2 separate regions of the Homo sapiens genome follow, and region 2 is linked to region 1. The links are contacts of gene promoters, found by promoter capture Hi-C in blood cells and fetal thymus (Javierre and others, 2016). All regions are on one chromosome and are shown on one strand. The core of a region is centred on a gene start or on the middle of the fragment in contact, and the rest is flanking DNA. Distances in the headings are between cores, read along the strand shown.

The links. The method cuts DNA at HindIII sites, captures the fragments that hold promoters and counts their contacts. A CHiCAGO score of 5 or more calls a contact.
Region 2: the fragment with the promoter of VTI1B here is called in contact with a fragment that was not itself captured in region 1 in 2 of 17 cell types (fetal thymus and non-activated CD4 T cells); the score reaches 6.0 in fetal thymus.

The regions. Positions count from the first base shown.
Region 1 is chr14:67,362,454-67,365,153 of GRCh38, reverse strand. It overlaps EIF2S1 (eukaryotic translation initiation factor 2 subunit alpha), which reads right to left. Exons shown (of 8, transcript NM_004094.5): 2 at 146-387. The coding sequence starts at 386. It also overlaps a transcript of GPHN not described here. Among named protein-coding and RNA genes, the nearest start is that of EIF2S1, 3.5 kb to the right of the region's middle. The HindIII fragment of the contact is 1,529 bases long and covers 572-2,100 here.
Region 2 is chr14:67,673,206-67,675,905 of GRCh38, reverse strand. VTI1B (vesicle transport through interaction with t-SNAREs 1B) reads left to right here and starts at 1,274. Exons shown (of 6, transcript NM_006370.3): 1 at 1,274-1,531. The coding sequence starts at 1,417. It also overlaps a transcript of GPHN not described here. RefSeq lists silencers at 950-1,389, 1,490-1,599. The HindIII fragment of the contact is 4,739 bases long and covers 700-2,700 here.

The DNA.
Region 1 (2,700 bases), core at 87-2,586:
CTTTTCTAACAACTTTGTATGTAAAAGGTTTAAGTATAAAAGGAGCTTTTTTTTTTAAGCTGCAGCTTGCAATTTACAAAAAATGTATTTTTAAATAAACCATTTTAAATCTGAAATTTATATTACAGATATTTTTCTCACTTACCTTTTTCTTTGTCCACCCTAATGACAACCACACACTCATTCCTGCCAATTCGGATGAGTTTGTTGATAGAACGGATACGCCTTCTGGATAATTCACTAAGAAGAATCATGCCTTCAATGTTGTTGTATTCCAGCAAGCTGACATAAGCCCCCATTTCAGCAATGGATCTGACATTCACCATCACTACATCTTCCACCTCAGGAAATTTGTGTTGATAAAATCTACAACTTAGACCCGGCATTCTGCAATTTAAACAAAAGAATTAAGTAAGTATTCAGTTAAGGTGAAAATAAAAAAAAAATCAATTTCCACATCCTGCCACTGAAAGAAAAGATGAAGAAAAAAATAGTTATTAGTCTTAGTCTTCTCATCCTTTGAAACTTCTTAAGTGGTACCAGAAAACAGATAATGTTCAGGAACCAAGCTTTAATTTTTATTTTGCTCAACATTTTTGTAATGCTTGGGTGATTCTCTGCCTTTAGTTTCAGAGGAATCATAAAAAATAATGACCATCTATAAAGTACTCCAAGACCTAAGGATTAAAGGAATACCTCAAGAGTAAAATACTACTTTAAGGCATATCAAATGATGGGAAGCATCACTATTATAACTAATCAGAAAACTAAAGCTACTCTTTGCCGAAGTGAGCAAACATTGTATACGCTACCACTCACTATATAAAGGAAAAAATTTTCTACCTAAACCCTAACCAATATACCAAATGATACATTCTGTCATTTATTATAGCCAAAATTACAGTGTCACATGTCAAAACAACAAAAACTAAAAAAATTTTAATCACAAAATAAACTAAAATGCATCCTCCTCTCATAATTCTTTTTCCTTGAATTCACAATGTCTAGCTTCTCTTATCCCCAATACTCCCAAATATTCCTTTCTTTTATTGAATAGGTATACCTAATCTTGAGAATAGCTTTAATCTCCATTACTACAAAGTTCAAGTTTCTCTTAACCTCCAAGCATTAAAGATATTTACAATTATTCCCTTTGATCCACCCAACCTACTTTCAGCACTACTCCTTTTATGATCCACAAGCCTGAAATCATAGCCTGGGTAGAAGCATATTTAAAAAAGGAAGCTCTCAAACTAATCATGGCTGATGATTTTCATGTTTTTCTGTTAACCTTCACTGTTGTCACTGCTCAAAACGTAGGTAGTAACAGAACTTAAAGGCCTAAGAAAACCTTGTGAAAATTCATATAATAACTTATTAATTGGCACCTGCCTATATCTTCTCAGTGGCTTCCCACTGACTTATGTATCTTTCCACTACCTACAGAATCCTATATGATCTGGCCATTGCCTATCTCCTTGTGGTACAACTTTCTCCCTAGTTCTCCCCATTTTATAGATTAAAAAACTGAAGCACAGGTTAAGTTACTTGTTCTTTCACATACTGCTAACAGGTGATGAGTCAGGATTTGAATCCATGAAGTCTGGATCCAGAGTCTGTCCTCTTATCAGTAAGACTATATTCTCTCAAAACTATTCATAAATATATTATAATTAGAAACATTTTACTTAAAAAGCAACATTAATATATATTCAGTGCCAGAGTACATAACACCAATAAGTGCAAACTATTAGTACTCATCTGTTTGACAACAAAGAGCAGCATATTAATGACAGTAGCAGAGATGTATTTCTTTGTAGGGAATACAAAATCCCTACAAAATAGGGATTTAGCAAATAAAGAGAAGTAGACATTCAATGGCCTTACCCACCAAGAAACAGCTGACTGTTTGTTTCGTTTTTAAACAGGGCTTTTCGAGGGTGGGGGTGGGGAAACTGTTGTTGAATATGTGTATGTAAAGCTCTCAAATTTGAGAGCTAAAAAGTTTCAAATTGGGCATAAAAATAAACTATGTTACAGAAATGTATGGAACAGTTGCAAGACATTTGACCAGTGAAAACCACATTTACTTACCAAGCTTCTCCAAACAGTAAAGGTGATGCTTTTAGGGGAAGCAAGGCTTAATTTGATGGTTAAAAAACATGGGCAATCATGTAAGAGAATCCTGAAGGGATATGACTATGAATACTATTTCTTCAGGAGGCACAAGTCTCTTTGCAACATAAAGGGTAAGTAAAGGAATACTGTTGATGGTATGTTATTCATAGTAAAGATAGATAGTAGTTAAGTACAAAAAGAATCCATACCACAAAAACCTGCATATTGGTTGACAATTTTTGAACATATTGCCTAATGAAATGCTAATAACTTAAATTTTTTTTTTAACTTAAAAAAATCATTCCGCAATATCGAAGTCACACTAGGTGACTTCACCTCTTTATCTTTTTCACAGCATTCTTATTTTATTTGGTCCTCAAGAAGTGTCAAATCAGGCAATTAACATAGTAAACTCGGGGAACAACTCTAGCCTTGTGTTCCAGTCCTTGCTCTGCTACTTACTAGAAGTGGCTGCTTGGGAAAGATAACATCCTTTGAACTGTAGTTTCTCATCTGTGCCATGTACATCACAGGTTTACTGAGGGTATCACATGTATACGTAAAAACATTTTGAAAACCATT
Region 2 (2,700 bases), core at 25-2,524, 310 kb before region 1:
CAGGCTGGTCTTGAACTCTTGACCTGAAGTGATCCGCCCGCCTCGGCCTCCCAAAGTGCTGGGATGACGCGTGAGCCACCATGCCCGACGTGAAGACAGGAATTTATACCCATGGAGTGCAAGAAGGGACCTTGTAATTTTTAACACGTGACACTTAGTGGCAGATGAGACCTAATGAAGCCAGGCCCACCTTCCACACCAGATTATAAATTCCCCTGGAGCAGAGATTAAATGTTTTATTCACCAACATGCCCAGATCCCTCGCAATGCCTACGCTTGACAAACACCTGTTGTCAACAAGTGCACGAGGCAGCCTAGGAGGAGAATTAGTCTCCACGAGGAGAATTACTCGGGCCTAGCAGCTAGAGTATTTCGAGGTCATCCTAACTGGGTTCCACTTTTGAATTTTTGGTTTTTGGGTTTTTTGTTTTTTTGGAGACAAGATCTCGCTCCACTTGGGAGCAAGGTCTCCCAAAGCTGGAGTGCAGTGGTGGGACCTCAGCCTCCGGGGGTAGCTGGGGCCAAAAGTGCGCGCCACCATGCCCGGTTCTTATTTTGGGTTTCTGGTAGAGCTCTCGCTATTGTGCCCAGGCTGGTCTCGAACTACTGGGTTCAAGCAATCCTCCCACCTCGGCCTCCCAAAGTACTGGGATTACAGGCGCGAGCCACTCGCCCGGCCGGGTTCCACTTCTGAAAGCTTGGGGAGCCGCTGGGCCTTCCAAGAAAAGTGCTCCACCTCCCGACGGCAGGCAGAGCCCCTGGCCCGGCTATCTTTCCAGGGCCGAAAGCTAACAGTCAAGACGCGAAACGAGGAATTCGGGTCAGGGTGGCAAAGCAAAGCGCGATGACAGTGAGGACGACGTCTAGACGCAAACATACATCAAATCGGGCCGAAGCCCGCTGTCGCCGCGCGGGCTGAACCTGGCACCCGGAGCAACGCGCGACCCCGGGACGAGACGCTCTCGTCCGAGCCAAACTACATCCCCCGGCGTGCACTGCAGCGCCCGCCCCTCGCCGGCCGGCGGGGCCCGGGAGGAAGGCGGCCGCGCTGCCAGTCCCGCAGGTCCCCTAGGCCCCTTTCGCTGCGGCCTTTCCCCAACCCGGACCCGGCACTTCTCGGGTTCCGCGACTGCCGATCGCCCCGGCGCGGCACCGCTCCCTCAGGAGTCGCCTAGGCCGCGCAGTCTCCCGACTTCTCGTCAGGCTTTCGCGCCGGCGCTCCAGCAATCACTGGCTGGAGAAGGTGGGCGTTCCGGCTCGAGAGGACCCTGCCGCGGCTCCGGAAGAGCCTCGTCCTGGGCGGCGGTGGTGCGGCGGTCGCCGTTATGGCCACTGGGCTGGGCGGCTGACCGCCGGGCTAGGAAAGGGCCCAGGGCCCCGAATCTCGGTGGCCGCTGCTCCAGCGCGGCCTGCGCCATGGCCTCCTCCGCCGCCTCCTCGGAGCATTTCGAGAAGCTGCACGAGATCTTCCGCGGCCTCCATGAAGACCTACAAGGGGTGCCCGAGCGGCTGCTGGGGACGGCGGGGACCGGTGAGGCGGGGGTGGGCCACGCCGTGGGGAGCGCAGCCCTGCGCGCTTTGGAAGGAAGATTCTCCCACCTTCCTCCCAGACCCGGGCCCGCGTCTCCTCCCTCCGCGTCCTCAGACACGCCCCCTAGGGCTGGCTTGTCCCAGCCCCAGGTCTCCCTGCTGCCACTGAGAGTAAATTGGACCTCGGGATTCAGTTCCCTGGGATCCTTCTATGGCCTTCCACATTTTCTCATCTTTTTTCACTGTGGCAAATAGAGCAGAGGGGCTTTTGCATCTGCGGTCCTGTAATGTAGAGTGGGTTTCTTTCATAGCTGTTTTTGTTTGTTTTATGCATTTAAAAGCACTAGTCTCAAGACAGGTCTAGTTTTCACCAGACTGACAGAGGATCCGTAGCACAGAAAAAGGGTTAAAAACCCAAAGGAGTCATAATTTGGGGGTGTTGGTAAATACCAGTTATTGGAGGGTAGAGAGCTGGCCTTTAAAACCTGATTGTGGCATTTAGATGTGGTCTTGTTTTGAACGTTTTTACAGCTGAGACTGTTTACTACCCCTTAATTTCATGATTCAGGTTGCTACAAGTTCTGTCTGGAGGAGCTAGAGTTTTCCGGCCCTAAATCCATAGGAAAAGCTGCTATAGTTCTTGGCCTCCGGATATATAGAATTTGATGGCAAGGACAAAACTTTGTTTTATTGCTTTTATTTAAGAGTCAGAGCTTGGGTGTTTGCTCAACGAATTACTCAAGGTCATAGGAATTGAATGACTGGTGAGAATGAAATTCATGTATTTAATATATATTTATTGTGAGGCTGCTGTGTGCTAGGTGCTGGTGAATTGTGAGGCACCGTTCTAGGTGCTGGTGAATATTGCAAATTACAGTGAAAAAGATACGAACATCCCCATTCTAGTGGGTAGGTGATAAACAATATATAACTATTAAGAGGCAGTGTTAAAGAATACAGGAAAGTAAATCAGAGTAAAAGAATAGGGGATGGGACTTCAGTTTTATTTTATTATTTATCATTTTTTTTTTTGAGACAGGGTCTCACTCTGTCACCCAGGCTGGAGTGCAGTGGCACGATCTCGGCTCACTGCAACCTCCACTTCCCAGATTGAAGCAATTCTCCTGCCTCAGCCTCTGGAGTAATAGGGATTACAGTTGCGCCACCACC